2 separate regions of the Homo sapiens genome follow, and region 2 is linked to region 1. Evidence: promoter capture Hi-C in human tissues and cell types (Jung and others, 2019). All regions are on one chromosome and are shown on one strand. Each heading gives the region's core, a stretch centred on a gene start or on the middle of the fragment in contact. The rest is flanking DNA. Distances are from core to core; before and after follow the strand shown. Region 1 holds the start of MATN2 (matrilin 2). Region 2 overlaps PTDSS1 (phosphatidylserine synthase 1).

The links. Contacts are between HindIII fragments. The study calls those that stand out against the background at their distance.
Region 2: a contact is called between a fragment that was not itself captured here and the fragment with the promoter of MATN2 in region 1, in 1 of the 25 tissues and cell types used here (dorsolateral prefrontal cortex).

The regions. Positions count from the first base shown.
Region 1 is chr8:97,867,294-97,874,157 of GRCh38, forward strand. It overlaps MATN2 (matrilin 2), which reads left to right and starts at 1,771. Exons shown (of 19, transcript NM_002380.5): 1 at 1,771-1,994. RefSeq lists an enhancer at 872-1,371. The HindIII fragment of the contact is 19,586 bases long and covers 1-6,864 here.
Region 2 is chr8:96,323,706-96,330,689 of GRCh38, forward strand. It overlaps PTDSS1 (phosphatidylserine synthase 1), which reads left to right. Exons shown (of 13, transcript NM_014754.3): 11 at 6,508-6,576. Among named protein-coding and RNA genes, the nearest start is that of PTDSS1, 65 kb to the left of the region's middle. RefSeq lists enhancers at 3,576-4,111, 4,112-4,647. The HindIII fragment of the contact is 4,346 bases long and covers 3,117-6,984 here.

The DNA of each region.
Region 1 (6,864 bases), core at 521-3,020:
TTGGGGATTGTTATTGTTTTCCTGGTAAATTACTGGATCACACTGGTGTCTTGGAATAAGTCAACACATTTTAAATTTAAGTTTCCATAAACTGTAGCTCAACTTCCCAAGTTCCTAGGGGATTTTCACTGGCCCAGACTCAGGAAGAATTTTCTTCTATGGGATCCAAGACTTCAGAGACCAAACATTTCCTGAAGACTTTCCTCTGCTTTCTGACCTCCACCTACCTCCTCCCAAAGACATAACAAAAAAACTATTTGTGATCAGTGCAGGCAGCCAAGAGTGCCCAGTGGGCCTAAGGTACTGGGTAAAGGAACAGGAATCCACAATTCTTTCTTGGTATTAAGGTATCATTGACTTGCCTGATGGCTCGAGTATGTTAACCCCTTGCTTCATGGCTGGAATTTTAATTACCCCTCCTGGAGCTTTTCTGAAGAATTGATTTTGGCGTTTATTCATATTTCAGAAATCAACTCTATCATCAAATAGGAATGATGGTTAATTACAAAACAAAGTCCGCCCAAAGCACCAAATTATCAGACTGTGGCACATCCAGAGGTTTTGAAACTAGTTAGTGCTGCTGCCTCTGCTGGTAGCTTGTTAAAACCTGAACTGGGGCCGGGCGCAGTGGCTCACGCCTGTAATCCCAGCACTTTGGGAGGCCGAGGCGGGCGGATCACGAGGTCAGGAGATCGACACCATCCTGGCTAACACGGTGAAACCCCGTCTCTACTGAAAATACAAAAAAAATTAGCCGGCCGTGGTGGCGGGAGCCTGTAGTCCCAGCTACTCTGAGGCAGGAGAATGGCGTGAATCCGGGAGGCAGAGCTTGCAGTAAGCCAAGATTGCGCCACTGCACTCCAGCCTGGGCGACTCCGTCTCAAAAAACAAACAAACAAACAAAAACACAAAACCTGAACTGGGTGCGTTGGCTAGTGGTTTGGGAACAGAATTTTGGAGCTTTATAGGAGATGTCCTGGTCTGTTATACATCCACTCACCCCAGCCTCCAGGAACTGGGGAGCTGGTAGAGGGGGGTGCCGGCCACTTTGACTGTCGCTGGCCAATCCTGTCTTCTGCATCCCTCCAAGGCTCCATGGGGACATCCAAGGTGAGGTTCCTCCATTCTGCAAAGTTGCAAATGTCTCTGCTCATAATTTCAAAAGTCTTGTCTGAACTAGACTTTCCCTGCTCCCTCGGGGTAGGAATTTTGTCTCCTCTCCATCCTGGCATCTTTACCTCCTCCCCATCCCGGGGCCTGGTCCCCAGCCAGTGGACGCTCTGTTAATATGAACTGGCACTGGTGGGGTGCTCTGGGCACTGGCAAGACAGCTCTTGGCGCTTGTCATCAATTAGCCCAATTCTCACCACTTTTTTCTCCATCCCCGCGTCAGTGGGTGCGTCCCGCAGGTCATGACCCCAAGTTCTAGATGTAAGATTCCTGCCATGTCTCCTTTCCCCCAGAAGACCCCTCCCCGCACTCCCAACCCGACAGGCCCCTAAAGCTGCCTGTGTTCCGTGCCTGCGGCTCCGGACCCCTGGAGTCTGATGCCCGCCTGGGCTCAGGCACGGACGGAGTGGAGCCAGGTGGCAGCAGGCAGGGCGCGCCGCCAGAGTGCCCAGCTCCCGGGGCTGCCCACAGGGTGGGGCCGCCCTCGCCGCCGCTCCCTCTCCGCGCCTTCCCCATCCCCAAAGAGGACACCCCTCCTTCCGCCCGGCCCGCTCCCCACCCCCGCCGCGGCACCGCCTCCCCAGCCGCCCGCCCTTGCCCAGCGCCTCCCAGGCAGCCAGCGAGCGAAGGGAGCGCTCTGGGATGGGACTTGGAGCAAGCGGCGGCGGCGGAGACAGAGGCAGAGGCAGAAGCTGGGGCTCCGTCCTCGCCTCCCACGAGCGATCCCCGAGGAGAGCCGCGGCCCTCGGCGAGGCGAAGAGGCCGACGAGGAAGACCCGGGTGGCTGCGCCCCTGCCTCGCTTCCCAGGCGCCGGCGGCTGCAGGTGAGCGCGGCGCGCTTTCCCCCGGCTCTGCGCGGCCGGGCGGCCTCGAAGTGCAGGCGGACCGACCCACCGACAGAATACCGAGCCTGGGCTGCCCGACGCGCAGGCGCCCTCCCCAGGCCCGCACTGCAGCCCCCAGCGCCCCGGGGCCCCGGCGCCTTCGACCCCTCCGAGGACAGGGGGAGAGGGAGGGCGGCGCTGCCCGACCCCTCGGCCGGGAGAGCTGGGCGCGCTCCCTGCGCAGGACAAGCCGCGCTGCAGCCGCCCCGGAGTGCCCCGTGGGGGCGCTGTGGCACGCAGCGGGGACGCCCAGACCCCGGCCACCGCGACCCAGGGAAAGGGAGACCTGTTGAGCGGGTATGCAGGGTGATTCCTATTCCACGGACAGCCGATGGCTCCCCCTTCCCTCTTCGGAACCTGGTATTTTCATGCCCGTGTCATCTGGATTTTGTTCTTGGGTCTCTATGGCAGCTAAACCTCCAGCTTCCCTATATTGTGGAAGAGGGAGAGAAAGGGGAAGGCATTTTGTGGTAGTTGCTAGAAACCCCAGAACAATTTGGAGCCGTTTGGGGAGAGGACAGAGAAATGGGGACTGTCCCTGGTAGGGTCTCCAGGACTGGGGGCACAGGAAAGTGCTCTCCTCAGGGACACTCGCGCCCACCCTGAACAAACCCAATTGACCAAGTTTCAATTTGTCATAAATCAGGAAGCCACAATGCATCTGCACCAAGCACACTTAAAATCGGCCTTTAAGGAATGGGGCAGTCAAGAGACTTCAGGGACCCGTGGTCGAGAGCAGAGACTGGGGTCAGCCTGCTTGGGTTTCAACCCCAGCTGTGAAGTTTACAGGGTTGATAACTTGAAGGTACCCAAGTATGCCTCAGTTTCCTCATCTGTCTAATGAGGATGGTAATACCCACAGAACTGTGAGGATTAAATGAGATATGGCGGCCGGGCACGGTGGCTCAGGGCTGTCATCCCAGCACTTTGGGAAGCCGGGGCGGGCGGATCACCTGAGGTCGGGAGTTCGAGACCAGCCTGACCAACATGGAGAAACCCCGTCTCTACTAAAAATACAAAATTAGCCGGACTTGGTGGCGCATGCCTGTAATCCCAGCTACTCGGGAGGTTGAGGCAGGAGAATCGGTTGAACCCAGGAGGCAGAGATTGCAGTGAGCGGAGATGGTGCCATTGCACTCCAGCCTGGGCAACAAGAGCTAAACTCCGTCTCAAAAGAAAAAAAAAAAGATATGGCAAGTAAAGTCCTTAGAACATTTCCAGGAGCATTCTAAGATTAGGTGAGTTCCATGGCTTGTCTTTGCAGAAATAGCAAGGAGCTGCTATGAGCAGTGAATGTACCTCTTCCCCAGTTCAGAAAGAGAGGCTCTCCATGGGTACGTGAGGGTGGCAGATAAGCCACGTGTATGCAACTGGTAGTTCCATGCAGGAGTCCACACGGGCGCAGTTCTCCCTGCTTGCTCCCAAAGGGCCAACCTCATAAAACCATGTCAAAATACCAACATGGGTTTATGACCTGGAATGTTTCCTCTCAGTCCCTGAAACTTGGCACTTAGAATCCTCTGTGGAGAATGAGATACTTATGGCTCTTCACCTTGCATTTTCCTATCTGTCCACACTTTTTACTTTTATTTCTGCCAATAGAATTCAATCTCAGGCCCCCGAGTTACCAGGACACTGTCTTCTATAAATCGGGGCTCTGGGGTTTCTTGTTCCCAGGCAACCCAGGGCCACCAAGGCCTAAGCTTGCTTGTTGGAGGTGTCAGAGCAGAGTCCAAATCTGAAACACCCTCGAGCAGCTGTCATGCCCTAAGCTCTTATCAGCGAGTGCCATATGTCCTTGTTTAGCAAAAGGTAGTTAAAAGTGTGGCCTGAGATTTAAAGAAAAGGAGAGATGTTTGCTCTTTGAAATAAGAGAGCCATTGGAGGTTCTGGAAAAATAATTCTACAGTTTATTTAGAAACAGTTCTGACTGGCACCTAAGAGAGGGCAAGGAGTGAGGTGGGGAGACTAAAAGGGGGAGAGACCGGCTTAGGCCTCAGGAAAAGCAGGCCGAAGAGGGTGTGACAGGTCTAACGCTGGCCTGAGCAAGGTGTTGGGTATGAGGCTGGGCAAGCAGTAGGAGAGGTGAGTGGTTTAAGACCAGTCAAGTTGGCAGAGAGCCTCTAGTGCTGCCCCTGGCACTCACTGCCCTCTGATCTGTAGCACCTGCAGGAGCGTCCCTTCCAGGGATTCCCCGTCTTCTAGGGAAGCTATGGAGGACTCCCCTGTTTAAAGCATATGGCAAGATAACTCAGGAGGGCCAGGGAAAGAGGGAGGCTGAGCATATGCCAAGGGGAGAATGGGGAATGTCATTGCTGTTGCTAGTGAATGGTGCCAGGGAGGTCCTTCCAAGGGGCCACTTGCCACTTGGAGCTTCAGCCCATGAGGCCATCCTTGAACCCTGCCATGTGGCTCGGCAGACAGCCAATACTGCCTGAAGGGGGCTCAGATGGAATGGCAGGGCTGGGCTGTTGCCAGTAATTGGTGTTAATGACTATGACAGTGGCTTTGACATGGATGAGATGGAGTTGGGGTACAACCCAAAGCACACTGCTCTTGGCACCCGAAAGACCTGGGTTGCAGTTCTAGCCCCTCATACCTGCAAAGATTTTGGAAAGTTACTTAGACTCTCTGTGCCTGACATCTGTTTCTTCATCTGTAAATGAAGACTGGATTTTTTGGGAGAATTAAATTAGTTAACAGGTGTTCAGTGCCTAGCTCAGAATAAATGCTCAATATTTGTTAGCTATACTTACTATTATTGTCTGAGCCTTGGTTTATATCATCTGTCAAATGGGCGTGATACTATGTCATAGGGTTGTTGTAAGGGTTAAATGAAATAATTAATGTGAATTTATCCAACAGTGTGTGAAGGGTGTAAAGTACTCAAAGTGAGTCAATTGAAATGGAAAATTTCACAAAATACCTGCATGTAAAAATCAGCGGCTGAGCAGGTGGATCAGCTAACATTTTTGGAAAGTTATTCTAAAAGTACTGTCAGAGGAACCTTTATCTACTTATGGAAAGTGGGGCTCACTGCCCATGGGGATACCCTGTAGTTATTTTATGTTGTTGTATTAGTTGCCTATTGCTGCTATAACAAATTTCACAAACATAGTGGCTTAAAACAACCCTAAGATGTTATCTTGCAGTTCTGAAGTTCAGAACTCTTAAATGGGTTTTGTAGAGCTAAAATCAAGGTGTCAGCAGGGCTCTGTGGTTCCTTTTGTAGGCTCTTGGGAAAATGTCTTTCATTTTCTGACTTCTAAAACCTGACTGCATTTCTTGGCTCTTGGTTCCTTCTTCCATCCTCAAAGCCAGTAACAGCATCTTCCAACCCTTCTCCCCATCCTGACTCTCGTGTCTCCCTCTTACAAAACCATACCTAGAAAATCTGGGCTAATCACTGCATCTCATAATTCCTAAGTTAATCACATCTCCAAAGTCCCCCCGTTTTTTTTTTTCAAGACAGAGTCTCGTTCTATCGCCCACGCTAGAGTGCAGTGGCGTGATCTTGGCTCACTGCAGCCTCCGCCTCCCAGGTTCAAGTGTTCTCCTGCTTCAGCCTCCCAAATAGATGGGATTACAGCCATGAGCTACCACACCTGGCTAATTTTTTATATTTTTAGTAGAGATGGGGTTTCACCGTGTTGGCCACGCTGGTTTCGAACTCCTAACCTTAGGTGATCTGCCCACTTTGTCCTCCCAAAGTCCTGGGATCACATGCGTGAGCCAACCGCACCCGGCCCAAAGTCCCTTTTGCCATGTAAGGCAACACAGTCTGGGGATTAGGCCATAGACATCTTTGACATATTATTCTATCTGCCAGAAATATTAGAGTATTAGATTGGGCATGATGGTAAGAAAAACTATTTAGAAAAAAGAAAGAAATATTAGAGTATTAGAGAAAATGATCTAAATCAAAGAGTTTTAGCTCACTTCTGTTTAGGGCTTCTCCCTGTACCCTCCCAGTTAGGTGAGTTTGTTTTCACATCTCTTTTTTTCTTTTTTTTTTTTTTCCCAGACAGTTTCTCTGTGTTGCCCAGGCTAGAGTGCAGTGGCACAATCTCTGCTCACTGCAACCTCTGCCTCCCAGGTTCAGGTGATCCTCCTACCTCAGCCTCCCAAGTTGCAACACCATGCCCTGCTAATTTTTGTATGTTTAGTAGAGACAGGGTTTCACCATGTTGGCCAGGCTGGTCTCAAACTCTTGACCTCATGATCCACCTGACTCAGCCTCCCAAAGTGCTGAGTTTACAGGTGTGAGCCACCATGCTTGGCTGTTTTCACATGTCTTAAAGACCAAAAGCTCAAGACCAGAGGGGTCAAGGCTATGGATCAAATGCTTCTTGAAACTCAGTTCAGAAATGGCTCCTTCCTGTCCTTTTTGGGCTTTCTCCCTCCCCTTGAGTAACCCTCAAATTTGTTTCTTTTTTAGATTTTTGTAAAAACTTTTTTTTTACAGAGACAGGGTCTCGCCATGTTGTCCAGGCTGGTCTCGAACTCCTGAGTTCAAGTGATCCTCTTGCCTCAGCCTCTCAAAGTACTGAGATTATAGGCGTGAGGCACCACGCCTGGCCAGTAACCCTCAACTTTGGCCCTTAGAACAGTCACTGTTGCCCCATCAACAGCATTTGTTGACTTTTCTAGCTGCTTCTCCTCTTCCATTTCTAGTGAAATAGAAAAAATGCCCTCATGTCCAGAGCAAGATCTCTGTGAAGCAAATCACTCTAGTGACGTTTGACCTCCCTGAGATTCCCAGACGGTGTCTGTACTAGTTTCCTATTGCTGCTGTAACAAGTTAGCACAA
Region 2 (6,984 bases), core at 4,040-6,539, 1.5 Mb before region 1:
CTCTGAAACGCTTTTGCTTTCAGGGATCTTCCTCACATTTTCTTGATGAATAGCACCTGGTTTCTTTCTTTCCATGGTAATCTCTTTAACAGCCACGTGGCCCCACCCTTAGTGTTTGGAATATGCTTTTTCACTGTTTACATGGCCAGGCTTTGAATTTTCCAGATTATTCCATTCTGCTTCCCTTTTAATTTTAAATTGTCTTTAAGTCATTTCCTTCCTCTGGAATCTCATTGTATGCAGTCAGAAGTAGCCACACAGTAGCCCGAATGCTTTGCTGCTTGGCTGTCTTCCACCAGATATCCTAGTTCATTGCCCTCAGGCTGCACACTCTAGAAAGCCTTCAGGCATGGACACAATTCAGCCAAGGTCTTTGCTACTGTGTGACAAGGATGCCCTTTACTCCACTTTCCAATCCTTGCTCCTCATTTCCATTTGAGACCTCATCAGAGTGGCCTTGACTGTTCATATTGCTACCAGCATTCTGGTCGGGAACGCTTAAGTAATCTCTAAGAAGACTGAGGCTTTCCCTCTTTTCTTCTGAGCCCTCACCAGGATCACCCGTAATGCTCCCTTTACAGCAATACAGGCTTTTTCTAGCCTGCTCCTCCAAATTCTTTCAGCCTCTACCCATTAGCCAGTTCAAAAGCTGCTTCCATATTTTCAAGTATTTGTTATAGTAACCACCCCACTTTTTGGTACCGATTTTCTGTCTTAGTCCATTTTCTGTTGCTATAACAGAATACTGCAGACTGGGTAATTTCAAAAGAAAATAAGTTTATTCTGCTCACAGTTTTGGAGGTTGGGAAGTCCAAAAGTATGGCAATGGCATCCAGTGAGGTCATCCCATGGTGGAAGGGCAGAAGGCAGAAACAAGTGCACCAGACAGAGAGGGAAGTGCCAAACTCATCCTTTTTATCAGGAACCCACTCCCAAGATAACAGCCTGAATCCATTCATGAGGGCTTTGCCCTCATGACCTATCACCTCTTAAAGGCCCCACCTCCTAATACTGTTAAGTTGGCAGTTAAGTTTCGAGGAGAGTTTTGGCAAGGACATTCAAACCATAGCAGTCACTCAGACTGTAGGGACCCCTCTAATTTCTCTTTAAGTTTTAGAGAGACTTTCTGTTACTTATTTGACACTTAGAATATATCTCCTTTTGTGGGTTAGCCTTTGTATCTATGTGATTGTAACTTATTGAGGACATGCACCATTTCTTATGCTCCCATTGACCTCTGCTTCACTTGGTACAGACCTCTTAGTCCGGGCTTCATTCACAGACAGTTGCTGAGTGCTCTTCCGTGCTGTGCCTGGGGCTCTAGCCACACAGATAGATGACGGTGATAAGATTTACTGGTGCCTACTATGTGCCAGAGACCATTCTAAGCACTGTCATGAATTCCACATTTGATCTTCACACTTTGAGGGAAGGTATTTTATTATCCCTCTTTTACAGATGAGGAAACAAAGGCACAAAGAAGTTCACTAACTTGCCCAAGGTCACATAGGTAGTTAAGTGGCAGAACCAGGACTCAAACCCAGACATTCTCTCTAGGGAACTGCTCTTCATCACTGCCCTCCAAGGATCTCTGAGTTCAGATGGCAATTAGACATGCAAACTAATTATGTTAATATGTGATAAATACTGTAAAAGATTGTGTGCATAAGGCTAAAGGATACTTAGAGCAACAGACATGCTGGGGGTTGGTGAAGGCTCCTTAGTGATATGTGAGCAGGATTTTTAAGGGTTGCAGTGAACCGCTGGCTTTCCCCCAGCCCCCCAGGCCCCAGCTAAAAACCTGGAGGCTGCTTCCTGTCCTCCATCACTCTTCGAATCAGCCAGTCACTAAGATCTGTTAATTTGACAATGCAGCTCAACTCCATCTCCTCTCCATTCCCACTGCCTCTGCGGCTGTCAGGACACCCATTTTCTTGCCATTCTGCCCTCCAAATCCATTCTCCATGCTGCTGTCAAAATGATCTTCCAAAATTCAGAACTCAATCTCTTTCCCCTGCTAAGAATCATTCTCTCTGGCTGGGGGCTTGAGAGGGCACAATAACACAATCTTTTTCCCCACCTGAGTTAAAAAATAAGTAAGAGATAAGCAAGATAGAGGAAAGTTATGGGGATCAGAGTAGCATCTTCATTAGTGAGAATTCACCTTTTTCAGGAAATGCCGGCTTCCTTAGTCACCATTCAAGGTGTGACTTCTCCCCAGGGAAGGAGTGAGGGGTGGAGGGAAGCAGTGAAGCTTCCTCCACACAAGAAGAAACTTCAAGAAGGAAGAAGGCTCCCCACCACGAAACCTCCCAGATGAATTATGAAATCTGCTTGTGTGTTCAGGACCTTCATAGTGGGAGCATTCCATCACATCTGCCCACGTGTACTCTATTCTCAGGCTGCACTTGTCTGCTGGTAGTTACCTAAACAAGTCATCCTTCCAGACTTCTTTTGCCCTTCCCACGCTGTTTTCTCTGCCTGATCTGAAAGACTTTCCCTGCCTTATCTACATGATGAAACTGATACCCCAAAACCAACTTAAACATATGACCCCCATGAAATATGCTCTGACCTCCAAGGCAAGTAGATAGCTCCCTCCTTGGGACCAGTAGTGCTTTGTACGTAACTCTCAGTTCTAACCCCAGTGCAGTGGAATTTGTTTTTTTTCTATCTGTCTCCTCCACACTGCACTCCTTGCTCAGAGAGAATAAGTTGAAGTCATCTTTTGGCCCCACTGTCTCAAGCACCGTGCCTGGTGCATAGGAAGCACTCGGCAGCTTCGTGGAGAATAAAGGAGTGAGTTCAAGAGACAAAAACTTGCGACATGCAGGTGGCTGGGGGGCAAACATACAAAGACAGGAAGCTGTGAGAGTGCCCAGTGGCTCAGGAAGGTGGTGACCTGTTTGAGGAGTGACAGTGAAGAGTTGGATGAAGAGTAGGACAGGGTCCCCTGCTTAGGAAGGGCTTTGTGCGGCTGTAGTTGCAGCCCCAGCAATTTTCAAGCGGGGAAACAATGTGGTCTGATCTGTGTCTCATGGGGAAACACCATGGAGGCTGGGAGAGTCTAGAGGGAAGATGGGTTGGGGGGAAGAAGTACAGTCAGAGGTGCTGCCAGGCCTAGTTGACAAGTAACTGAAGCTGAACCAAGGCAGAGGCATTGAAGATGCAGAGGAAGGGCTGGATCTGAGAGTTGTTTAAGGAATGTGCTCAACAGGATGCCATTCCTCTTGTGGTAGCTGGGAGGGGACTTGAGTGCCACTCCAAAGGTTCTAACTGGTGCCACTGGGTGGCCACCAGTGCTAGCGACAGATTGGAGGATATAGGAGAAGCCCATTGAAAGGAGGAGGTGAATTTGGTTCAGGGGATTTGGGTTTGAGGAACCTTTAGAATTTACAGGTGGAAGTGTCCTGTTTTATGGGAAATTCTAATCTGTCAATAACACTGGAAGGATTTGGTCGTTGGTGGAAATAAAATACTTGGGAGGAGCCCATGTGGAGGGTGCAGTTGGAGTCCTGGGATTAGGTTAAGAGCTCAGGGAACATGCCTCTGGGAGAGGAGCTGACTGAGGCTGGGATACCTTAATAAGAGGTCAGGCCGGGGACGATGAGCAGGATTTTGAAGACAGGCAGAATCTCTGATTAGACTTACAGGATGAGACATGAGAGAGGGACGTCGCCCGAAAAGAGGCCCTGAGACAGGATGATTAGGGGTCTCCACTGCCTCCCTTTAAAGAAGAACAGAAACAAGGTCCTGGCACTTTTTAAAATATTCCTGACCTTTATTATAAAGAGCAAGATTGATCGCAGACTCAGGAGTAGAGGCGAACATTATTCAATAAGAGAGCTTCAAGTTACACCATGCCTTCTGCCCCACTCAGAAAAGCAAAGCCCCTAATTACTCCCCTGGCCTGGTAAGAGAGCGCACACGGAGCTTGAGATTAATGCAGAAGCAAAGATCCCGGGTGCTGGTTAATAAGCTTTTCCAGGAGCGTGGTTGTCTGCTCGGCCGTCATTAATTTGAATGCTCATTACCATAATGTAGAAGCCAAGCTGGGGTCCTGCGCCCTCCTTGCCGCCAGCCCCGTGGTCCTGGACAGCCTGGCTCTCATCCCACGTAGTTTCTTCTCGCCCCCCCGCCCTTTCTTTAAACGAAGTGTGCAATTGCTATTTTAAATCTGAGCCTTGACATTTTCAGTGGGTACGTGCCTAGATTTCCACAGGTGTGATTGCAAACCTGTAAATTACCGGCTTCCGTTTGCTGGGACAAGTGTAAAATGGGCCTCTTTGTACGCAGGTGAAGTAGATTTGGCAATCACAACAGACCCTTTGTGTGACGATTGTGATGATAAGCACCTGTCGTTCTCCACTTGCCTGCTGTTTGCCGCTGGAGGGAGCGGCAGCTGCCACTGCCTGTCATATTGGGCCTGGGGCTGGGGAAGGGAAGAGCCCCGCGTGCCTGCCCTCTGGTGGTCAGAGTTTGCAATGACAGTCTAGTTGAGGGACCCGCCTCCCCACAGCCCTCTCGTTTGGGGAGGTGGAACCTAACCCCCCCAGTCCGCTGTGTGAAACCCAGAATGTTCTGTTTTGCTCTTTGTAAGGGGCCTAACGCATACACAGGCTTACACTCTGCAAATCATTTCTAGTCCTTCCCACTCTTTCCATGCCATGAAAATGGCACACTTAACGTTGGTATATCTAAGAAATCTGGGCAAGCATTAGAGTATGTTAAAGGTTGGAAGTCATTTTCACTTTGTAGTTTTAATGTATTCATTCGTGGCCTAATTTTTTGATGGATATGAGCTTTTTAATAAATCCCTAACCTGTAGGTATATGCCAGTTTGCACGTGGGTTTAGTAGGAAATGAACCAGTGGCGCTGCTTGTGCTTCTCACTCTCTCTCCACGCTGCCACTGTTCCTGCTTCCACGTAACTGGCACGGAAGAGGACAGCTAGCCAGAGTGTTGCTCTCCTTTCTTTTTTGGAACTAAGAAGGCACTGTGTATCCAGCAGCTGCCAGGAAATGTCGCTGATAAAGGAACTGGGCCAAAGCTCGACTGCAAGCTGCCATGATGAGAATTCACAGCCCCTGCCTTCCCGCCCTACCACCAGACTGTGGCTGTGCAGAGGAGAAGCTGCTGCTGTTCACTGTTCCCATGATGCTTTTCGTTCTCAGGGATGGATACATGGATGGAGAAATAAAGCTATATAGACATAAAGCCAATATTTGTATCAGTAGCCATCCCTTAAACCCAGATCCGGGGGTTTCAAGAGATCTGAGTTCCGGCTCCAATGTTCACCTCTCTGAGCTTTCATTCTTCTTCTGGAAAATGAGGGGCAATGAAATTAATGGTCTCTGAGGTGACCTTTTGGATCTAAAGTTATGATTCTTAGAACTAAAATTATTTCCTTGAGAAGGTCCCTCCATGCTCTCACAGCTGTCCCCACAGTTGGTGCAAGATGAGAGGGGTCCAGGAAAATGACAGGTGCCCAGGTGTCCACAGGAAATGCAGGGGGAGAGATGGAGGCTCAACAGCCAGGATGGCTTGATGTGAATGGGTTTCTAGAGTGAGGAATTTGGAAGGAGCTGGCAGTTGCCTTGTTTTGTTCTGGTTGCTTTGCTTGCAGTGGGGAAGGTGTGGCCGGGGAGATTCATGGCCCTGCTCTACCGCTCACCCTCCCTCCCTCCTGCCTTTGGTATGCAGTCCAGGCAGCTGGAGACTTTTCCTAAGCTTTGATTTTTTGACATGTTTTGAAACTTTGGATTCTTGTCTGTGCTTTTCTTTCCTTAAATTAGGGTATAATTTAGGGTGTGGGGGCAGGCCCAGTGAGTGGGGCAAGTGTGGAGTAGAGGTTGTCCCTGCCTCTGGGCACCCACAGGCCACACCCTCCTCATTCCACTCAGGGCCTTAAGAGCATCTTTATTTTCTCTTTGTTTTCCTATCCATATAACCAAGAAAAACAAAGCAATAAAAACTGGGGTCCACTCAAAAGCCTGGAAAAGCAAGGGCAGCCCTGTCCAGCTAAGCTCCCCACCCTCTACCCTGGGAGTGTTTGTCCGTGGGCCCTCAGGTGCCGCTGTGACCTCTTCCCCCTAGAAGCTGACACACTGAGTCCTCTTAGCGCTCTCCTGTGATGGGGAAGCCGGGAGAGAATGGACCCTGAAAATCAGAACTAGAACATAGAATCCTCTCTATCTTCTTCAACAGAACCCGCAAAGCTATCAAGAAAATGCATCCCACCATATTGCACATCTGAAAATTGTCTTTCTTGCTTTCTGATAGTAGAGTCACAGGTAGTAACTGTGGTCTCATCATAACCTTTGTTGTCAGAAGCTTTGGGTGTGCACCCTCCCCTTGAGGTCTGATCTCTGCCACGTCCAGCCGTTTTGTAACCGGCGTCCAGACGGCAGAAATGCATTGAACGGTCCTGCATTGATTCCCACTGAAACCCTGAAGTTCTGGGAAATTGAACTTTTTTGTGCAGCATCATTTGTTTTTCTCTTCCAGGCTTTCACCACTTTCCTCTGTCTGTACGGCATGATTTGGTATGCAGAACACTATGGTCACCGAGAAAAGGTATGGAAGGAGAGGCAGGCATGGCCATTGTTTAAAATAATCACCCCGGGCTCGGCAAATTCGCTCAGAGCACGTGCCTGTAAGGATATGGCGAGGTAAACACTGAGGTTGGGGCCTCCAGTCCTGCCACTGCAGAAACCGCATGTCACAACTCATTCCCTAGCCATTGCTGGCCCTGCTTGTGACGGCTCTGTTCAGTAGACCAATATTTTTGTCTAACTTTTGTTAGATAAAAAAAGTTATGTTTGTTTGGAGAAAAAAAGAAAAGTGATGGGAAAGCTGTGGACTGGCTTTTGGAAGCTGGGTTTTCTCCCCAGCTCTTGAACTGTGTGGAGGCCTCTTCCTGTGTTCCGGCCTGTGGCTCTTCTGGGCAAACGCTTGCCCTGACCTTCATTTAGTAGATATGAG